Linked DNA regions of Homo sapiens: regions 2, 3 and 4 are each linked to region 1. Evidence: promoter capture Hi-C in 16 types of primary human blood cells and fetal thymus (Javierre and others, 2016). All regions are on one chromosome and are shown on one strand. The core of a region is centred on a gene start or on the middle of the fragment in contact, and the rest is flanking DNA. Distances in the headings are between cores, read along the strand shown.

The links. The method cuts DNA at HindIII sites, captures the fragments that hold promoters and counts their contacts. A CHiCAGO score of 5 or more calls a contact.
Region 2: a fragment that was not itself captured here is called in contact with the fragment with the promoter of TASL in region 1 in 3 of 17 cell types (neutrophils, monocytes and naive B cells); the score reaches 6.6 in neutrophils.
Region 3: a fragment that was not itself captured here is called in contact with the fragment with the promoter of TASL in region 1 in 1 of 17 cell types (neutrophils); the score reaches 13.1 in neutrophils.
Region 4: a fragment that was not itself captured here is called in contact with the fragment with the promoter of TASL in region 1 in 1 of 17 cell types (M1 macrophages); the score reaches 7.9 in M1 macrophages.

The regions. Positions count from the first base shown.
Region 1 is chrX:30,575,945-30,581,943 of GRCh38, reverse strand. It overlaps TASL (TLR adaptor interacting with endolysosomal SLC15A4), which reads left to right and starts at 4,178. Exons shown (of 3, transcript NM_025159.3): 1 at 4,178-4,306; 2 at 5,078-5,192. RefSeq lists an enhancer at 3,947-4,156. The HindIII fragment of the contact is 8,514 bases long and covers 1-4,813 here.
Region 2 is chrX:30,857,332-30,863,486 of GRCh38, reverse strand. TAB3 (TGF-beta activated kinase 1 (MAP3K7) binding protein 3) reads left to right here. Exons shown (of 11, transcript NM_152787.5): 5 at 3,809-4,000. The coding sequence starts at 3,899. Among named protein-coding and RNA genes, the nearest start is that of TAB3-AS1, 26 kb to the right of the region's middle. The HindIII fragment of the contact is 2,081 bases long and covers 3,106-5,186 here.
Region 3 is chrX:30,838,960-30,844,832 of GRCh38, reverse strand. It overlaps TAB3 (TGF-beta activated kinase 1 (MAP3K7) binding protein 3), which reads left to right. Exons shown (of 11, transcript NM_152787.5): 9 at 1,784-1,867. TAB3-AS1 (TAB3 antisense RNA 1) reads right to left here. Exons shown (of 3, transcript NR_145449.1): 3 at 5,760-5,813. Among named protein-coding and RNA genes, the nearest start is that of TAB3-AS1, 7.3 kb to the right of the region's middle. The HindIII fragment of the contact is 3,399 bases long and covers 1,382-4,780 here.
Region 4 is chrX:30,279,462-30,284,809 of GRCh38, reverse strand. No RefSeq gene overlaps it. Among named protein-coding and RNA genes, the nearest start is that of NR0B1, 27 kb to the left of the region's middle. RefSeq lists cis regulatory regions at 407-553, 644-1,384, an enhancer at 534-1,733 and a silencer at 2,417-2,518. The HindIII fragment of the contact is 2,928 bases long and covers 1,751-4,678 here.

The DNA.
Region 1 (5,999 bases), core at 2,929-5,428:
ATTTTTTTTTTTTGAGATGGAGTCTCGCTCTGTTGTCCAGGTTGGAGTGCAATGGCGCGATCTCCGCTCACTGCAACCTCCACCTCCCAGGTTCAAGCGATTCTCCTCCCGAGTAGCTGGGATTACAGGTGCATGCCACCATGCCCGGCTAATTTTTGTATTTTTAGTAGAGACAGGGTTTCACTATGTTGGCCAGGCTGGTCTTGAACTCCTGACCTCAGGTGATCAGCCCATCTTGGCCTCCCAAAGTGCTGGGATTACATGTGTGAGCCATCGTGCCCGGCCAGGCAATAATGGTTTTATATGGGACTGGAAATTGGCAAGTAGGATGTGACAGAAAGACATATTGTTGTGGAATTTAGAGTGCTACTAGGAGCACTATGAGGTGAATAGAGGGTAGCCAGGGTGGAGGAAACCTGGTGAGGATTGAGAGTGAGCTAGGAGGGATGCTATCATAATGGAAATAACTTGGAGGGTGTTTTGTACAGCAGGAAAAGTAATTGAATAATAGGAATAATGTCCATTTAGAGGCACAGATATCGAGGCAATAACTTTTACCTACTATTCAGCAGATTAATAGAAAATCATATTATAAGATTTCAGCTACAAGGGATATAATTCTATTTTATTTTAACCAGTAAAGAAAAAGCTGTTTAAAGCTGATTTTGTATGCTCAGGTTTTATCAAATGAGAAATAGTAGAAATAGTAGGTTAGCTTGGCATAGTGCCCATTTTTTCCTTACAGAATCTTTTTTCTGCAAAGGAGGTTTTTCCATCAAAGGGGTAACTTTAGAGACAAAATCAAGAGTGGGCATAATCAAAATTCTGCATATTGTATTTGAATAAAACAGTAAGTGTGACTTAAGACAACGTGGAGAAGATGGAATCACCCCACAATGGTTATTTCATTGTACTTCCAGGCGAGTTCTTGGTAACCCACCATAAAGTGTTTCTGGAGGTAGGTAAGACCTACTCTACGGTGTCTCATGACTGTGGATGAAGCAACACTAAAGTGAAATAAATCAATGTTTGGCCCTACAGGTGCTATGGTCTCTTGATCACAGCTAAATCCTTGATGAGCTAAAAATGCCTGAAGACATCACTGAACCTGATTTTGTAAGATTACACTGTAACTGAATTTGCCCCTGGGGCAATGAGTCTGGTGTTTCCTGTGATGGTAGGTCAAGTCAGATTCAGGACTAGTTGAGAAACTGTCCTTATCATGGCTCATACATGAGAGCATGCCTTCTAAAGTGGATTTAAGTAATGTTTCATGAAAAAATAATGCAGAAAATCATGACTAACAAAAATAAAAATGCTAGTATACTTTAAAATATATGACATTTTAAGATAAGTCGTTGAACAAAAGTAAACAAAATCAAACCCATTAAGTGGAAATGTTCACCTCTTAAGAGTTTGGAACTTAGCTTTGTTTTTTGTTTTGCTTTGTTTTGTTTTGTTTTGTTTTTTGTATCCATAGAACTTAGTTTTGATTGGAGTTAGGTAGAAAAAGACAGTGAAGTAGTTATGATTTGGGCAGGCTTATTCTTTGTTGGTTAACTTGAAGCAGTCAGGGTAAACCAGATAAATGATTTTGAAACCCTTAATTTTTCTGCTTTTGGGCAAGAAGAACTGACCCATTTGCAGATAGACTTGTCTGTCCTCCAGAAAAGACATAGATTATAATACATTTGGGCCGTACAATCAAAGTTAAATATGACTTAAGAATACTAGTTTTTAAAATGAAAAAGTAATACATACACACAGAAATTTCAAAAGGGTATAGAATGAAAAATGAGTCTTGTTCCTGAAACACAATTGCTTATTTCTGATTTCTTGTGTGTAGCATAAAAAAAGAAATATTCTAGAAAGGCTATAACAAATGCTGGTGAGGATAGGGAGAAAAGGGAACTCTCATACACTGTTGGTGGGAATGTAAATTAGTACAACCACTATGGAGAACACTTTGGAGGTTCCTCAAAAAACTAAAAATTGAGCCACCATAAGATCCAGCAATCGGACTGCTGGGTATCTACCCAAAAGAAAGGACATCAGTACATTGAAGAGATATCTGCACTCCTATGTTTGTGGCAGCACTGTTCACCATAGCTAAGATTTGGAAGCAACTTCAGTGTCCATCAACAGATAAATGGATAAAGAAAATGTGATACATATACACAATAGAGTACTATTCGGCCACAAAAAAGAATAAGATCCTGTCATTTGCAACGACATGGATGGAACCAGAGGTCATTATGTTAAGTGAAATAAGCCAGAAACAGAAAGTCAAACATCACATGTTCTCACTTATTTGTGATATCTAAAAATCAAAACAATTGAACTCATGCACATAGAGAGTAGAAGCATGGTTACCAGAGGCTGGGAAGGGTAGTGGAGGGCTGGTGGGGCAGGTAGGGATGGTTAATGGGTGCAAAAACTAGTTAGAAAGAATGAATAAGACAAAGTATTTAATAGCACAACAGGGATACTGTAGTGAATAATAACTTAATTTTACATTTTAGTATAACTAAAATAGTATAATTAGATTTTTTGTAACACAAAAGATAAATGTTTGAGGGGATGGATACCCCATTTTTCATGATGTAATTATTATGCATCATATGCATGTATCGAAACATCTTATGTACCCCATAAATATATACACCTACTGTATACCTACAAAAATTAAAATACAAAATTTTAAAAAGAAATATTCTATTACATAAGCATGTATATACATATATTCCTTAAAAATACAAACTGGAAAATGAGTTCTTGCTAAACAATATATGTTAGAGATCTTTTTTTTTCTTTTTTTTTTTTTTTGAGATGGAGTCTCGCTCTGTCACCCTGGCTGGAGTGCAGTGGCACAATCTCAGCTCACTGTGACCTCCACCTCTCGGGTTCAAGGGATTCTCATGCCTCAGCCTCCGAGTAGCTGGGATTACAGGTGCCCACCACCACGCGTGGCTAAGTTTTGTATTTTTAGTAGAGACAAGGTTTCACCATGTTGGCCAGGCTGGTCTCAAACTTCTGACCTCAAGTGATCCACCTGCCTCGGCCTCCCAAAGTGCTAGGATTACAGGCGTGAGCCACCGCACACAACCTACATAGGATTTTAAGTATGCATACGTTCTCATTTACTTGGCCAATATCTTATTTATGGATATAATTTTTTCTAGTCATTTATTTTCTCAAGCAATGCTGCAACAAATATCTTTTCACATAAGTCTTTGTGTACAAGTGTAAACATATAGCTTGGACAAATTTATAAAAAATACAATTGTTGGGTCAAAGGGTATGAATATTTGTATTTGAGAGATACTGGGAAATTGCCCTCTAAATATGTTTACAATCTCATCAGTAGTGTTTGAGAGTGCTTGTTTCTTCACAACTTTGCCCACACCATGTATTATTGTTTTGACCTTCGGTATTTGGAGAGGGAAAACTTTTTTCTTTTTTTTTTCTTTTGAGACGGAGTCTCGCCCTGTCGCCCAGGCTGGAGTGCAGTGGCGCGATCTCGGCTCACTGCAAGCTCCACTTCCCGGGTTCACGCCATTCTCCTGCCTCAGCCTCCCGAGTAGCTGGGACCACAGGCGCCCGCCACCGCGCCCGGCTAATTTTTTGTATTTTTAGGAGAGACGAGGTTTCGCCGTGTTTGCCAGGATGGTCTCGATTTCCTGACCTCCTGATCCACCTGCCTCGGCCTCCCAAAGTGCTGGGATTACAGGCGTGAGCCACTGCGCCCGGCCGAGAAAATTTTTTTCATTTACATTTTTAAAAATTATAAGTACCATTGAGAAATAATACTTCTTAAAAATTATAGATTAGTAACGAAACAGAATTTCCTAAAGTCATATGTGACTTTGGCTTTCTTTTGGGTGAAGGATCCCAGATAATGTACTTTTCTAGAAAGGAAATTTAATTCTGTTGCTAGGGTTCTTACAAAATGTGTAACCATAAACTATTTTAATAAGAGACAGTTTCGTAGATAGGTTTCATTTTTCGAAAAAGGGGAAGAAACACCATTCTGTGGCTTGATGTGGCTTTGTCAGTTACTGCCTCCCCACCTCCCGGGACTTCCCACTGCCTCTTTAGCACAAATCGGACTTGAACAAAAACAACTCTTTTTCCATGGGACCAATTATAAAAAGAATGGCTTTGCACTGAGCAGCTCAGTCTACTGGTCTCATCAGTGAAAGGCTTGTGAAAATTTCTGGAAAGAGCATTGGCTGGCTTGTTCATCTCTCTGTTTGGTCAGTTGCTGTGTTTCTGCCGGATCAGATGAGCAGATTGGTTAGTGAAGGTAAGAAAAAGAAAGCAAAGGACCCTAGAACTCCGCTATTATTTTTTGTCATCTGTCTTCTCACGCTTTCTTAGCCCTTTATCACGAGAGCGCTGATCCATTCTTATGACATCTAAAATGCTTTTCTAGCTTACCATATCAGAGACAAGTGGGAGTTTAAACAAGCATTCAGTGGAGTTGAAAAATAAAGAGAAATTAAGCCCAATACTTCCTTTCCTTACCTCCTCGTGTCCACATTCTAAGCATTTCTAAAACACTTATATTTTTACCTACAATTTTTGACTGATCTGAGCAAATATTTATTGTGTTATTTTTGCAGTCCTCTTTCACTAATTGCCACACTGGTTTAGCTTCTGCATTTTTAAAAGAAGGCCTAAAAACCTAAGCAGGGTTTTGCAGGGACAACACAGCTCTTGAATTCAGTTACGGTGATGCAGTTTTAGAGACGAAAACAATCACAGTCCTTTCCAATTGGATTTGACTCTCAATTATTCAGTTCAGCAAGCTTGTGATAGTGTTTTTCTGTGTGGCAGGATGTATTCAAAATGAATGCGATCTATAGTGAGGATGCTTTTCGACTTTCATCTGGGTGATTTGGGGAAAGCTTCCCTTTTGGTATTAAAGATAGCGCATGTACGAGTGGAGTTTTGTTTGAATTATCTTTAGACTCGCTCAAACATTCTTTGTCTTGCGCATATGAATCTGTGCTTAAATATAGACCTGGTTTGGACAGAATATTTATATTGATATTTTATAACATTTCTTGCATAGGTCAGTGTGAGAAGAAGATTGTTTCTGAGCTTGAGAAGCTTCTGGAGGATTGAAGAGTATTTGAAGTCTGTGTCAAACATCCATATCATAAGTGGAATTTTGGAGATATTCAAAGGTAGTACACTAATTCTATTATCTCAGAGCAAAATGATGTTTGAAGTATTTATATCAAGTCACTGAGACATTTCTCATCTCATATGTAGTGATTATTTTAGATATATAAGATATTGTCCCTCTAGGCTCTTAATAAACATTATACAATGTAAATATGCCTTCATTAACTAAATATGGTTTTTTCCCCCTCCCAATTTTTATTTAGAAATGTTTCAAATCTATATAAAAATTGAAAGAATAGTACAACGAACACCCATATTTTCATCATGTGTATTAATCAGTGGTATCTTTTTGCCACATTTACTTTCTCTCTCGCTTTGTCTTTCTCTGTCTCTGCCTGTCCTTTTCTCTCTCTCTATATGTGTATATATATATTCACACACACGCATGCACATATGCACAGTTTTTTCCCTGAATGGTTTGAAAGTATGTTGCTGACTTTAGGACACATGTCACCCCTAAATTCTTGAGCATGTATCTCCTAAAAATAAAGGCAGTCTTCTATAACACATTACAACACCACGGAAACATAACATCAACACAATACTATTATCTAAGATGTGATACACATTCAAATTTTCCTAATTATCCACATGTCCTTTAGAATCTTTTTATGTTTTAAATCCAGGATCCAATCAAGAATCTTGCATTGCATTTGTAGTTGACATGCCTACAATTAAGTAAATGTTAATGAAATTGGCATAATTAACATGATTAACAATGATTAACAATTATAACACCAAAGAAATTTATATCAGTACAATACTATTATGATAGGTTTCTTATTTTTTTAGTCCTCTCATTTTGC
Region 2 (6,155 bases), core at 2,897-5,396, 280 kb before region 1:
TCCAGTCACCTCCCATCAGGCCCCAACTCCAACATTGGGAATCACATTTCAACATGAGATTTGGAGGGGACAAACATCCAAACTGTATCATTGACTTAATTTATTGGCTGGAATATTTTCTGTTTGTAAACAGAAAGCCTCCCAGTGAACAAAATGGAAGTTGCTTTTTTAAAGTATTTTAACATGATATAGTTATCAAAAAATTAAGTTTGAGAGTGTTATATATTACTGTGAAATACTAAATGATTATTCATGTCAGTTAGCGCTGATGTGAGTGAATGTTTGTACAGGGCAGAGTGCTAACCACTATTAAGATTACATACATAATCCCTTAAGAAGGATATGTGTTTACCAGTTTAGATTCCTATTTGTTGTGAAAAGTCAGTCTACTATTAATCATCTTTTCAGATGGTAGCCATTTTTGTAAGCTGTTGGCTTCCATTTGAAAGATGCTTTAACATGTTTCTTCAAAGGAAAGTATTTATAACCATTTTTTAAAAAGGCATTTTCTTCTTGTGTGTTTAAACAGCTAACTTATTTGTACAAGAATTATTTTTTCCTTCCCTCTCAGTCTTCCACCTCACCACACACCTTTAGCTCCCTATGTGAATGATAAACTTAATGAGGGTTTGCTCCTTAGCCAGTCAAAGAAAGGCACTCATCATTAGAAATGTCTCTGATACCTACTAGTGACACAGTGGAAAGAACACAGACTTTGGAGCAGGCAGGCGTGGATTTGAGTCATGATTCTGCCATATGTTCATTCTTTGAGTTCATTTTCTTATTTGTAAAATGGAGATAATCATAACTACCTTTGAGGGCATATTATTAGCTACCAGTAAATGGTAGCTAATTATAGTGATAAAAATAATGGTAACCTTGGATTCAGTAGCATCTGAGGTTTCTGAAGGCTCTGACAAAGCTAGGTGAGAGCTGGCCGCTCTCAAGATCTCTGAAGTATATGGAGCCTATGCTTTTGACACCTGAAGCCTGTCTGTCCGTGTTTTGATTCTTCTTGCCTTTTCTTCTAGCTCATAAAAAAGACAATGGTATTGCCCTTGTATTTTAAAGGCTTGTAATTAAGGTTGGAAAATGAATAAAACCGTTTTTGGGAGCCATTGGGAAAGCTGGAGTTAGGCCTTTGGCTGCTTCAGAAGCTCTTTATTGAAGGTTTGATTAAATAGCCATGAAGTGTTCTGAATGTGGTTTAGCACCTAAAATACTGGGATCACTTCCTGTTAGGAAAACTGTTATTTCTGTAAATACAAGCCGATTTGATTAGTTAAGGTCATCCCTACCATTAAATTCAGTGAATTCCTTTTTTCTCCCCATTTCTCCTAATAAATATTTATTGAACAGCTAGCCTGTGCTAGGCCATGTGCCTACTCGATTGTATACCCTCAAAGGAGATGTTGAATTAAGGAATCTAAGAGTTGTAGGTAGTCGCCTATTATTTAAATGAAGATCCTAAAGCCTTAGAGCTGCACTGTCCAGTAAAGTAGCCACTAACTACAGGTGGCTACTGAGCACTGGAAATGGGACCAGTGTGAATTAAGATGTGCTGTAAGTATAAAATATACACTGGATTTCAAAGATATCATTTGAAAAATATATATAAAATAACTGATTTTATGTAGATTACATTTAAAACAATACTTTTGACATGGGTTAAATGTTACAATTAATTTCACCTATTTCTTTTTAAGTTGGCCACTAGAACATTTAAAATTATACATATGACTCACATATTTTTTACTGGACAATGCTGCCTTAGAGCTTCAGTGACTTGGTAGGATTATACATCTAGCTAGGACTCCTTTGGCCAGTGGAAATTATAAATTGCTTTACTGTGAAAATGGAAGATAGATAATTCAAACCCCATTCAGAAAAAAGTTAAATTAACACTAAGGACTTTGAAATAATTTACATTTTAAATTAAATCCTGGATTGTTAATCTGGTAGCATCTCTTAGTATTTCAGATTTGGAGTTTTCAAAAGGGACAAACTGGAAAAATATACCCATTGATTTAGAAGCGTAAACCAATTTTTTTCCCTATGTGTTCACAAATTGCCCTATATAGGTGACTCCACTCCCCTGACATTTGCTGGGTGGGGGGATGGCAGGAGATGGGGGGACAAGAGTCATCTAAAAGGCTTGTCTATATATTTTTCTTTGAATATGAATAGTGTTTTATCCAAATCTATCTTATTAGGTAGACTGGTTTAGTATAGTGAAATTGATTCATCATTTAACAGATACTTGAGTAGTTGGGCTCTGTAAATACAGTGGTGAACAAGGCACAGATCTTGAGTAGAGCTACAGGCTTTTGTTTGGTTAGCTGGTTTTTGTTGTCATTTTTACTTTTTATTTGGAAATAATTTTAAACTGACTAAAAATAGGAGAAAGAACACCGCATACCCTTTACCTAAATTTACCTATTAACATTTTCCTATTTGCTTTATAGTTGTCTGTGCACACATGCATGTGTGCATGTACACATGTTTGTATGTACACATGTACATATATTTTTTTCTGAACTGTTTGAGAGTAAGTTGCATGCCCTTTACCACTGAATGCTTCATTGTCTAATACCGAAAAATAGGAATATTCTCTTATGTAACCACAGCACAGTTATCAATTCAGAAAACAGGAAATTCAATACATTTAACATTGATAGAATACTTCTAATCTACCATCAACATTTCACTTTGGTCAGTGGATCCACTCATTTATTTTATTAACAGTTTTCCCTTTTAGTATAGGATCAGGATCAGGTAAAAGATTTAGTTGTCATGGCTCTCTCTTTTTTAACCTGGGACATTTTTCAAACCTTTGTCTTAAAATGACATTTCCTTTCCCCTTCGCTTTTTAATAGAAAAGCCCAAAATGAGAAATGTTCTATTTCCTCATGATTAGTTTCAGGTTATGCATTTCTGACTGTAATACTATAAAATGATGTGTTTTTCTCATGGTGTCACATCTGGAGGCCTGTGCAGTCCATCTGGCCCTCATTGGTGATGTTCATCATTTTGATCACCCAGTCAAGATGTTGTTCAATTTGTCCACTGTATAATTAAATTTTTCCCCTTTGCAACTAATAAGCTTTGGGTACACACTTTTAAAACTGTGTGTATTTCCTACTCTTCATCCAGATTTTCCCCTAGATTTAGCATCCATTGATGATACTTGCTTGAAGTAGTCTATACTATGATGGCTGCAAAATGATTTTTCTTCCAGCTCCAGCACTCCTGCATGTTTACCAATTGGATTTTACTGTAAGCAGGGACTTCCCTTCTCCCCTATTTTTGTAGGTATGTATTTAGCTATCTTCATTGATACGGACACACGGCTCCCTCTTTTCTACAGGTTTATAACTCATTACTGTCTTTTATTATTTTGGTATTCAAATTGTTGCAAATGTGGCCAGTGAGTGCACCTCTTCAAGTTGACTTCCAGGTCCTTATATGTTCCCATCACTTCTTGAGTACTTCCTCACTGTCTTTAATAATGAGCTATATTCCAGGTGGGGCTTCAGGTTTTTGTTTTTTGTTTTTTTTTTTTAAATAGGTGAGACCTTTAGGTGCATAGATGGTTTCAGTATAGCGTGTTTAGTGTTTCTGTGAGGGTAAGCACAGCCTGCTTTGGCAGCATTGTGGAGGGGAGAGGCAAGGCAGCAGGACTAAGAAGGAGTGTCAGTGGAAGCCTCCTTAGAGGAGATGCCACCACTACTGAGATGTATAGGATCAATAGGAATAAAGTAAAATATGTAACTAGACTTAACCATACTTTTTTTTTTTTTTTAAATAGAAAATGACTGTGGTGCTAGAAGATCATTACTTTTGGAAAGCCGGTTAACATCCATTTCCTAAGAGAAACTTGGCCACCATTTGCTCTGGCATGGCGCAAAGCAGCCCACAGCTTGATATTCAGGTTCTCCATGATCTTCGACAACGTTTCCCTGAAATTCCAGAGGGCGTGGTGTCTCAGTGCATGTTACAGGTAAGTTACCTACCAGTGATAGTGATATTAAGTTCTAGTTTTTCCTATTAGAGCTGGTGATGTGTGATGTAATTAGAACCCAGGTATGTTTTCTTGTGTGTGTGTGTGTGTGTGTGTGTGTGTGTGGAGCAGGATTTCCCTCAACCTTGGCACTGTTGACAGTCTAGCCTGGATAATTCTCTGTTGTGGGAGTCGGCCTTGTGCATTGTAGAATTACTAAACGTTCTAGGCATCCGAGGCCTCTACCCAGTAAATAACAATAGCATCCCCGCAGTTGTGACAACTGAAAATGTCTTTAGACATTGCCAGATGTCTCATGGGAGGCAAAATCTCCCACCATTGAGAACCACAGATTGGAGAAGAAAATAAAAGCATGTAGCAACAAGAAAAACAGATTCTCCTTATGTTTCACTTTTTGAAGTTTTTGGGTTGTACTATCAGTCCCTAAGTCCTTAGAGTTGAATTTTGAATCTTAAATGTATCATTTTAACTTCTTAGACTACACACTTTTGAGTCTTTTTTTAAAAGTCTTTAGATAATCCACTCCCTGTTTTTCTAATGCTAAATCCTTACCGATATCTAATTTTAAATGTAAGCCCATTTTCACTCACCTTACCTTTGTTTTGCTGTGTGTCTTACATTGAATTAAATCTCATCTCGAAGACAGAATGTGTCTTTCCCACTCAGGGGACAACAAACAGAGAAGTTGGCCTACCACTTTCCCTGTACCCCATCTCCCTGTCCCACTGTCCCCTTGTTATGTTTTATATAATCCTTCACAGGATCTTAGTGTTTTGGGTTATGGCACTTACCTATTTGCTTAACTTTGGGCAGCAGTACTTCTACCATGCTCACTGGTCTTCCTCACACACAGTCAGTACTCATGTTCAAACTCTACCTTATGGCAGTGTGAGCAGCTCAGGACATAACCTAAACCTATATACAGGTGTGGTTAATTAAAAATAGAGACTCAGAGAACAATGATGGTAACAGAGGTGCTTCCTTTGTTTGCAAGCCCTTTACTAGTCTAGAGCTTTGGGCTTATGGTTTTTGTGTTACAGCTTGCCTTTGCTTTTTCTCACACACATTCCTAGCCTGAATCTCAGCTCTTTACTTTGGCCCCATTTTGGTTTCTGGTAGAGCAAAGACACTTCCCACCGGAGTGAAACCAAATAAGGATGAAGCTTTTAGTTTAAACCACTTCCTAGCAATCACCTTCCTCACCTATCTTAGGGCCCAACCTAGCCCTGACCTTGTTTTATTTCACTTAGCCCTTTATTACCTGCATTTTTCATTACCATTTAACTAAACTGAAGAAATAGAACTTCAAATTCAGCTCAGTGAACATTTGTTGATAATTACACTGTCCTAAGTCTTTCACTTTTTTCTTCCTTTGGGATTAATAAAATATATTGGTATGGAGATTTACCACCTACTGGCTCTGGAAAACTGCTTTATTCACATTAAAATGTACGAAGCTCAGCAGTTTGCATTTAATGTGCAAGCCTTAGAGCCTCACTCTGGGGTGTATCATCCTCAATTTAGGATCACTTTTTAGGAATATGATGCTTTTTTGCCTCATTCCTTTCAAAAGTGTTCATTATATGTCTTAAAAATTCTTACCTCTGAAATGATTTTGATTTCTTCCTCATGTTTACTGTTTGATACATTTTTTATCCTTATTTTTCTTTAAAGACATTTAACAGTCAAATGTGACATTAGAATCTATTCTGGTAGTTTTCTTTGTACAGTACTTCTGTAAAAATAATACTTTAATATCTTGGTTTTGTGGTTTTTTAAATTTTTCTTCATAGGAAAATTTACTCAACTTGTCACTATAGATATGCTGACAATTCCAACTTTATATCATTTTGAATTTGGGTCCTTTTTGTGACAATACTAAGTAGGCTAACTCAGTGTAGAGAACATGGAATTTCAGGGTTATTAATAAAAATATCAGATGTTAAAGTATCCATGACTACCTTATGTTTCAAACGAAACTCTCTAGTTTTTGTTTTCCCCTAATCCATAGGTCTATAAAAAAAAAAAGAATACTTTATTTCACCTTCCATATTTTTTTCCTTCAGATGTCTGTCAGTGACACATTCTAGTTGGCAATCAGTTTGAATCCTTTGGCTCCAAATTTGTTTTTAAT
Region 3 (5,873 bases), core at 1,832-4,331, 260 kb before region 1:
AAGAGCGAGAGATTAAAGATTAGTGGCAGGTGAACCCAAAAGACACGGCATTATCTGAACAACAGACAGAAGCAAATTTGAATGTGAGAATTGAGCAATCTAGTCAGGTACCCTTAAAGTCATTTTCAGAAGCCTAGTCACTCTATAGCCCACTAACTTGAAGCAATCAAAGAATTACTATGCATGATGTAGGGGTTACATAAACTATTGCTACTATATTTTAGAAGATTGCATCAATTTCTTTTACTTGTGTGGTCTTTGGAGCAAAACAAACAGTAAAACATTTGGTTAGGATACTTATAGTAAGCCTTTTGTGATCTAGAAATTAGAACATGAGCTGTAACAAGTAATTGAAGAAATACATATGCAGCTTCTTAAAGCATAAAAAGATTCAATTAATACATCAAATAGCACTGTGGCTTTTATGAGCTATCACAGCAATTATTTTCAGAAAATTATCTTAAAACAGCATATTCAAGTGGATAAAACATTTGTGAAAGGGCCTGCAAGGGAAACCACTATTAAGGTTTTATAAGCAAAGAGCTGTGTTTTTTGTCTGCATTGGACAATGAGCTCTTTGGGATACTTAGGCATTTCTAAATCTCTTTTCATAACGAATCTAAATGTATCCATTTTATACTAAATTCTACTCTTCCACACTGCAGAAAACTTTTTATACTGAGTTTCCAATCTAAACTTTTAAGCTAGGGAAGGAATCTAAACCTTTTTCGGTGGTGACGGGGGGAGGCAGGGGAATAAGCATTTAGAATAGATGCAAATCAGTGCATGACTTGATGAAAACCAGCTTTTTTGTGATTTTTGGTAAGGAAAACTTGTTGGGAAAAAAAAAAGTAGATCTGGAAATGAAGAGATTTAATATATTTAAACTATCAGTATTAGTACCATACAGCATCTTCTATAAATAAGTATGGCTACAGTTAACTGTAATCGTTTAGAACAAGCAGAGCACAGTGATAGGTTCACAGAAGTGAAGGCAGGACCCAAAACCAACCTTGGAGGAGACACAGCAGGAGATGTGGCTGAAATACAGACACTAGACCAGGGAATGAACATTTGAAGACAGACAGGTGAAAATTTTGTGGCAAGACAAAATTCTCAGGTATTGTTCTATCTATTCTGAAATTGGCACCTTTTATCATTGATAAATCTGTAGGAAACATTTAACACTTAGTGTAAGATTCTCCTTTTCTTGAAAATAAGAATACATAAACTGCTGATGTTATTTCACATTTATTGAGGTTGCTTAGTAGTCTCAAAATATAACTTGATTAATCCTTGTAAATGTTTATATTTGGCTTTTTCTGTAGTTCAATTTATAATGAATTTTTAAGGTAAATTATGATAAATATGAAAGTAAGCTTTCATTATTTAAGTGTTCTTTCTCACAGTTTGTTCATTAAAAATCAAAACAAGCAGAAAGAGAAAACAGTTCAACCATCCTTTCATTTCTCTTCTTCATTTATCTCCCCAAATGCCCCACATGCCTAATCCTGCCTAAGGAGACTAGCCTTACAATTAGAAAAATATTCCTTTAAGTGTAATACATTGTAGACATACATCTGTGTAGTGGTTTTCTTGGGTCTTTTCTCACAGCGATGAAAACACAATTTCATTGGGAGGACAGAATTATGTAATGAATTTTGAAATCCTGGAAAACATTTTTCCCTTCTTATGTGTTTTATTTACATATTTTCTTTAAAAAAAAATCAAATAACAGGAAAAAAGAGTTCTTAAATGCCTGATGAATTTACTTTCTTTATAGGAAACTTTGATCCAAAAGCCATGAATAATTTTTATGACAACATAGAACCTGGCCCAGTTGTACCACCCAAGCCATCTAAAAAAGGTGAGTATGAAAAATGTCACAAATACGATAGAAATAAATGTCAAAATAATTTGGGATTTCACATTTATCTGAAGAAATTTCCACTAGAGGTTAAGTTGTTCAGCATAAAGTTACCATATTTTTATTATTTTTATTTTTTTGAGACAGGGTCTCATTCTGCTGCCCCAGCTAGAGTGCAGTGGTGTGATCATGGCTCATTGCAGCCTCGACCTTCTGGGCTCCAGCGATCTTTCTGCCTCAGCCTCCCAAGTAGCTGGTGTGTGGCATGGTAGGCACACACCACCATGCCCAGCTAATTTTTTTTTATTTTTTGTAGAGATGGGATCTCACCATGTTGCTCACTGGTCTCAACAAATTTACCATATTGGTGTTATAATGTGGCAATAATGAAATGTCCCCAAACTTTAGTTTTTAAAAAGTACTGAAATTAGTAACTCTTAGAATTACTGTCAGAGGTAATTTGATGGACTATATAATTTTTTACAAACAGAAGCTGAAACACTATATTACATAGTTAACATTATAAATTTACTTAGCATTGTAAAAACTATAACCCTAAAAGATAATTCTCATAAAATAATGAGGATTTTAAAGGTCTAATGTGAGAATAGAAAGTTAGATTTGCAATAGACTTAAGATTATTTTTCAGACAACAAAAGAATACTTGTGTACTCAAAAGGGGAGCATAGCAATTGGTAGCGACTAGGTATTTTCCCATCAAGAACAAAAGAAATCCTATATAACCAAGGTTTGAAGGAATCATTTTTGGATAGTTGTTACATAAAAATGATTTAAAATTAAAGATATCAAACATGTTCTTATTTTTATGTAGCAAATGTTTAATTGGCATTTCTGTATCTTAAAAAATTAATTTTAATTGAATTTACACGTGCAGTCATTTAAGCCAGACGGATGGATCACATGAGGCCAGGAGTTCGAGACTAGCCTGGCCAACATGGCAAAACCCCGTCTCTACTAAAAATACAAAAATTAGCCAGGCCTGATGGCGCGCGCCTGTAATCCCAGCTACTCAGGTGGCTAAGGCATGAGAATCACTTGAACCCAGGAGGTGGAGGTTGCAGTGAGCCGAGATCGCGCCACTGTACTCCAGCCTAGGCGACAGAGACCCTGTCATTTATTCATTCATTCATAAATAAGTAGTCATTGAATGTAGATTAACTTTCTGCCTCATTCTTAATATTTTAATCCTTTTTGCCTTAAGCAACTCAAGGTAGATTGATCATGAAGACACATAGAACAGTGGAGAATGCCTTATTTTTGAAAAAAATTACCAGAGAGTATAACATTTAACATCTCATCAGACTTAATTAAAAGAATGTATAAATTCTATCTAAATAATACTACCTGACCTAATTACTTAAATTTTGGTTGAATAGTTTTCTACGTATATTAAGCTCATTACAGAGTGTTTTTTTTTTTATTTATAAGTTGCAACATAGTATCTGTTCTTCTTTTTATTGTTTAATATTACCATCGATGTTTCATCTGATCTACATTTAAAAACAGCCTATTGATTTCTTTTTTTTTTTTGAGATGGAGACTCTCTCTGTCACCCAGGCTGGAATGCAGTGGCACTATCTCAGCTCACTGCAACCTCCACCTCCCAGGTTCAAGTGATTCTCCTGTCTCAGCCTCCCAAGTAGCTGGGATTACCCACCACCATGCCCGGCTAATTTTTGTATTTTTAGTAGAGACGGCGTTTCACCATGGTGGCGAGGCTGGTCTTGAACTCTTGACCTCAAGTGACTCAGCCTCCCAAAGTGCTGGGATTACAGGCATGAGCTACCGCACCTGGCCAAAAAATAGTCTATTGATTTCTAAAAATGGCACAAAGAATCATCTTAGTGGATGACTGCCGAGTGCCAGATTTGGCACTTTGGCAGCATCATATGCAGTTTCTTGCCGAAAGTCACTGAGGTGTATAGTTAGCATTGATCAATTTAGTCTTTTGGGTTCATAAAATCAGTCTTTAAACTCGATTTTGCCTGAATGTCTACTAAAGAAGTATCGCCAGACAAACTTTAGTTCATTGATTCAAAGAGCTGTCTTAGAGCAATTGCCCTGTCTAAGGGAGTGCATTGGAAAGTTTTTACCCTGGAAACAGGACCAAGTTGATTAGAAATGGTGGAAAACACGTGCATCATGAGCCATCCCTCAGCATAAACTCCCTATAGGTGTGGTGTATTAGTCTGTTTTCACGCTGCTGATAAAGACATACCCAAGACTGGGCGGGCCTCACAATCATCACAGAAGGCAAGGAGGAGCAGGTCACATCTTAAAGAGAGCTTGTGCAGGAAAACTCTCCCTTATAATAACCATCAGATCTCGTGAGACTTACTATCACAAGACCTGCCCCCATGATTCAATTACCTCCCACCAGGCCCCTCCCACAATATGTGGGAATTCAAGATGAGATTTGGGTGGGAACACAGACAAACCATATCATGCGGTCTGAGGGACCCACCATAAATAACAAAGACACTGCCGTTACTCAGGAAATTTCAAGGTTTTGAGCCAGGGACAAAGCCAGACCTCTGTTTGGGCAAGGCAAAATTCTTTCCCATGCGATAGTTAAAGCAGTGCTTAGAAGGAAATTTATAGCTTTAAATGCTCATGTAAGACAGGAATATCTAAAATTCTACCTTAAGAAACAAGACAAGAACAAAGTAAAAACAAAGTAGAAGAAAGGAAAGTCAATGAGATAGAAAACAGAAAAAGTTAACAAAGCAAGTTTGATCTTTGAAAAGATAAACAAAATCAATAAACTTCAAGGTAGACTGATCTGTAAAAAAAGAGAACACAAATTACCACAATCAAAAGTGAAAGATGGGTTATCTATTACAATGATAATGATAATAAGGGAAAGTGATGGACATCTTTATGCAGTAAGCTTGACACCTTAGATAAAGTGGACAGATTTCCTGAACAATATAATCTACCCAAACTGAAAACAAGACAAAACAGTAAATATTAGTAAGTGTGTGTTTTTTTAATATATATTATATATATATATATATATATATATATATAATATATATATGTATAAAGAAACTGAATCCACTATCAAAATTTTCCCCCACAAAGAAAACTCCAGATCCAGATAGATTCACTGGTGGGTAAATTCCACCAAATATTTAAGAAAGTAAAAATACCAATCTTAAACTCTTTGAGAAAATACAGGAGGGAACGCTTCCCGTATTTCTTTTTTGTTTTTTCATTTCATTTCCTTTTCATGTTACTGAGAGGAAGTTGCGGAGATTTTCCATATACCTCCTGCCCCATTATCAGCATCCTACACCAGAGTGGTACGTTTGTAACAATTGATGAACTTATATTGAGACCTCATAATCACTCAGAGTCCATAGTTTACATTAGGGTTCACTGTTGGTGTTGTACCCCATCTTTTTTTATGGCGCTAGCAGAACTCTGATTCTAAAACCTGGTAAAGACATTATGTATCTGCCCCTCACAAAAAGAAAACAAAATTTCAGATCAATAAACTTCATGAACATAGAAACAAAAAATCCATAATTCTGTTTTCTATCTCATTGACTTATAGTCACTATATAAAAAAAGATAATACATTATGACCAAGTTGAGTTTAGCTTAGGAATATAATCTTGGTATAGGCATTAAAAAACCAACCAGTGTAATTTACCATATTAAACAAAGGGAGGAAAAGCATGTGATCGTTTCACCAGATACAGGAAAAACATTTGACAAAATTCAACAGCCATTCCTGACAGACAAAAACTTTAAACAAATTAAGAATAGAAAAGAACTCTTTCAGTCTCATAAAGGGCATCTTTCAAAAACCTTTAGCTGCCATTATTACTGAATAATGCAATTCTGAACTTACCAACATTGGGAACAAGGCAAGGATGTCTATTCTCACCACCTTTATTCAACGTTGTACCTGGAGTTCCTAGCCCATGCAGTAAGAGAGAAAAAAAAAAAGCATAAATATTGGAAAAGAAGAAATAAA
Region 4 (5,348 bases), core at 1,965-4,464, 300 kb after region 1:
TCTATTCTAAATAAAAGTTTTTATGACATTTATTCTGCCCCTGATTTATCATTACATAACCAAAGTGTATCTGGATCATATGGAGAAGAGTGCACATCACTCAGAAGTCCTGGATGTTCACCTGGATGAAGTGAGTGAAATAGACTTTCAGTTGCTTGAGGAGGGAAGTGAATGTGTTCCATATGAGGGAAGAAAAATGAATATATAGTGGCAGAAGAACAAATTCCAAAGAGACTGTCTATCTCTTTACAAATTAGGGCCTTCTTCTTCCCAGACACATAAATAGGATATATCACTGAGCATAACTTCTTACCTTGTAGTTGGTGCTCTATTGGATATACAATGGAGTTCTAGACAATGAGATATGAACAGAAGTGATATGTTCTATTTTCAAGCTAATACATACAGACCATATACTTGATATCCTCCATGTTTTTCCTCTTCCTGCTGGCTTGATGCAGATAAGCATGGGTGTCTTGGAAGCCACTTGTTTAAGAGGGATTGTAATCAGTCCTGGATGTAGACACATACAGCATGAGAATTCTTAGAAGTTTTGGATTAACTTCCATATGTTGTAGGGAGGAATCTTACTCTTTAAGCTCAGATATTCAAGAAATATTCACTTTTTGTCCCGCTTGAATAAAATTAAGCCAGAATTTAAACCCAAGCTTCAGCCCACCAGGCTGGCGGGAAATGCAATTTCAGCCTTTATTAAGGCTTGGTCAGAGTCTCTTCAGGTCAGATAGTTTCACTGTTTCTAAGACATGTTTGTGACTCACTTGGTGAGTCTGGGAGCCCCTGTCCAGATTCCCTGAGCTCATCACAAGCCATCCCTCTGAAGGTTGTCATCTCCTTGGAGGACAGCCTCTGAACTATATATAGGTTCCCTTACTCTCACCAGGACCCTCAACCTGTGGTCCTTTTCCAACCTCAGCCCCAAATTTTAATCTCTTTCTTTTTCTTCCCTTCTCTGCTTCAAAATCTATCTCCCTCTATCCCCATGTGAACTGTGGAACAGGCAAAATGATCATTTAATAGATTGAGATTTTACAAAGGACAGGGAGAGCCAATGACCTTAGCCATTCTATCTCTCTGTGTTTTGTAAAAATCCATGAGTCACAGTGACAAAGGCTGACCAACAATTTGAAATGACAAAGGAGAAAAATATTGCTGAAAACATGACTCATACAAATGAATCATCATGGCACAGCAACATAAAACTCTGGAGTCTTTACTCAAGGGGTTGCTAGGGCTAGTTTTCGTGGTCACACTTCAGCTAATGCTCATTAAGTGATCATGTGGAATATTGACCATTAATGTATAAATGTTTTCATTAACCCAAAACTGATATGTAGTGACTATTCATATGAATTGAATGCAATTCTGGACATTAACTTAAACAAACAATCGATCTAGGTTTTTGGATGTTTAATCAAATATTGACAAATTTTCTGAAGGATATCGATGACTAAACTTTGTGTAAGAACTCTGTGAGGCCTATAGAAAAAAATTTGAATGACATATGAAAAGAGAAACCAATAAGCTATGAGCTCAAAATAAACACTATGGAAGCAGAGATAGGCAAAAAGCACTAAAGATTAAAAAATAGGAATTAAGCAAAATAAGAGGAAAGCATCCAGCAAATACCAATAGTCAATGAGCCATAATAATTACAGACAAGCATATGGTGAGTATGTGAGCGAAAACTGGGAGCACTGAGATGTACAATTTTGAAGACAGGAATTAAGCTTGACGAATAAATATTTAGAATGGTGTAATGACAGAAAAGGGTTAACTTCATTCAATCTCTGAGATACCTGCTCTGCAATGAGAGCTGCTGCCTGTGAGACACAAGAAGCAAAACTCCACAAAGAAAATAAACGATTGTACAATTCAGCAATGGCACTGGTCTCACTGAGCCCCTAGGATCAGATCTCTGTCAGGAAATGGTTCCTAGTGCTTTGAATACTCAGAATAAATGTGTTCCTGTTTTATGAAGAATTTTAAAAACATGCTGAGCTGATACATGTTGAGGTAGAACATCTAGGTTTTCATACACAGGCATACCTAAGAGATATTGCAAGTTTGGTTCCAGACCACTGCAATAAAGTCAATATTGCAGTAAGGTGAGTCACACAGATTTTTTTATTTCCTACTGGATTTTAAAATTGTACTTACTGTTGTTTATTAAGTGTGCATTGTGTCTCAAAAACAACATGCACACCTTGCTTAAAAAATGCTTTATTGCTAAAAATGCTAATGAAGATCTGAACCTTCAGTGAGTCTTCATCTTTTTGCTGGTGGAGGGTCTTGCCTTCATGTGGATGACTTCTGACTGATCAGGGTACTGATTGCTGAAGGTTGGGGTGGCTGTGGCGATTGCTTAAAATTTCTTAGAATAAGGCAACAATAAAGTTTACAGAATTGATTGACACTTCCTTTCATCAAATATTTCACTGAAGCATACAGTGCTGTTTCATAGTATTTTACCCCAGTAAAACTTCTGTCAAAATTGGAGTCAATCTTCTCAAACCCCGCTGCTGCTTTATCAACCACATTTATGGAATATTCTAAACCCTTCATTGTTATTTCAATAATGTTCATAGCATCTTCACCAGGAGTAGTTTCCAACTCAAGAAATCACTTTCTTGCTCATCCATAAGAAGCAACTCCTCATCTGCTTAAATTTGATCATGAGATTGCAGAAATTCAGTCATATCTTCAGGTGTCTAATTCTAGTTCTCTTGCTATTTCCACCACATTTGCAGTGACTCACTCCATTGAAGTCCTGAACCCCTCAAATTCATCCATGAGAGTTGGAATCAACTTCTTCCCAACTCCTGTTAATGTTGATAATTTGACCTTTCTTCATGAGTTATGAATGTTCTTAATGGCATATAAAAAGGTGAATTGTTTCCAGAAGATTTTCAATTTACTCTTCCCAGATCCATCAGAGAAATGATAGCAGCTATAGCCTTAAAAAATGTATTCCTCAAATAATAAGACTTGAAAGCCAAAATTACTCCTTGATCCCCGAACTGCAGAAGGGATGTTGTATTAGCAGGCATGAAAACAACATGAATCTCCTTTAAAAAGTCAGGAAACAACAGGTGCTGGAGAGGATGTGGAAAAATAGCAACACTTTTTACACTGTTGGTGGGACTGTAAACTAGTTCAACCATTGTGGAAGACAGTGTGGCCATTCCTCAGGGATCTAGAACTAGAAATACCATTTGACCCAGCCATCCCATTACTGGGTATATACCCAAAGGATTATAAATCATGCTGCTATAAAGACACATGCACACGTATGTTTATTGCGGCACTATTCACAATAGCAAAGACTTGGAACTAACCCAAATGCCCATCAATGATAGACTGGATTAAGAAAATGTGGCACATATACACCATGGAATACTATGCAGCCATGAAAAATGATGAGTTCATGTCCTTTGTAGGGACATGGATGAAGCTGGAAACCATCATTCTCAGCAAACTATCGCAAGGACAGAAAACCAAACACCGCATGTTCTCACTCATAGGTGGGAATTGAACAATGAGAACACATGGACACAGGAAGGGGAACATCACACACCGGGGCCTGTCATGAGGTTGGGGAGGGGGGAGGGATAGCATTAGGAGATATACCTAATGTAAATGATGAATTAATGGGTGCAGCACACCAGCATGGCACATGTATACCTATGTAACAAACCTGCACATTGTGCACATGTACCCTAGAACTTCAAGTATAATAATAATAATAATAATAATAATGATAATAATAAAAGAAAACAACATGAATCTCCTTATACATCTCCATCAGAGCTCACAGGTAACCAGGTGCATTGCTAACGAGGAGTATTATTTTGAAAGGAATCTTTATTTCTCAGAAGTAGGTCTTAACAGTGAGCTTAAAATATTTAGTAAACTATGCTGTAATGAGATGTGCTGTCATCCAGGCTTTATTCTTCCATTTATAGAGCACAGGTAGAATAGAATTAGCATAATTCTTAAAGGCCCTGGAATTTTCAGAATGATAAATGAACACTGGCTTCATCTTAAAGTCACCAGCTGCATTAGGCCTCAACAAGAGAGTCAGCTTGTTTTTTGATTCTTTGAAGCCCGGCATTGAGTTTCCTCTGTAGCTATGAAAATCCTAGATGGTATCTTCCTCTGAAAGAAGGCTGTTTCATCTACAAAGAAAATCTGTTGTTTAGTGTAACCACCTTCATCATCTTAGATCATATCTAGATCCTCTGGATAACTTGCTGCAGCTTCTATAAGAGCACTTGCTGCTTCACCTTGCACTTTTATGTTACAGAGATGACTTCTTTCCTTGAACCTCATGAATCAGCCTCTGCTAGCTTCAAACTTCCTTTTGCAACTTCCTAACCTCTCTCAGCCTTCATAGAATTGAAGAGTTAGAGTGTTGCTCTGGATTAGGTTTCGACCTAAGGGAATGTTGTGGCCGGTTTGATCTATTCAGACCTCTCAAACTTTGTCCATATCAGCAATAAGCATGTTTCACATTCTTATCATTTGTGTATTACCTGGAGTAACACTTTTGATTTCCTTTAAGAACTTTTCCTTTGCATGCAAAACTTGGCAAACTGTTTGGCACAAGAGGCCTAGCTTTCAGCCTATCTGAGCTTTTTCATGCCTTCCTCACTAAGCTTAATCATTTCTAGCTTTTGATTTAAAGTTGAAAGTCCTACAACTCTTCTTTTCACTTGAACACTTAAAGGCCACTATAGGGTTATCAGTTCACCCAATTTCAATATTGTTGTGTGTCAGGGAATAAGGAACCCTGAGAAGAGGGAGCGAGATGGGAGCAAGGGAAACAACCAGAGCACACACAACACTGATCGATTAAGTTTGCTGCCTTATATGGGTGCAGCTTGTGGCACTCCAAAACAATTTTAATAGTAGCATCAAAGATCACTGATTGTAGATAACCATAACCAATATGATCATAGTAATAAAGTTTGAAATATTGAGAAAATTACCATAAGGTGACACAGAGACCTGAAGTCAGCACATGCTGTTGGAAAAATGGTGCTGATAGCCTTGCTCAACACAGGATTAACACAAACCTTCAATTTGTAAAAAACACAGTATCAGCGATGTGCAATAAAGTGAAGCACAAAAAAACAAGATATGCCTGTGTCTACATTCTCAGGAAATGCATTACTCTTACCTACCTCACCCCACCTTGAATCCGTTAGATAATAAGAAAATGTATGTATGGTTTTGGTAAGGTCCAAGGTGTTTGTACTTAATTATGATTCAATAATTATTTAATAATTGTTAACTGGGACAGCTATCAAAACAGTAGGTATTTGAAG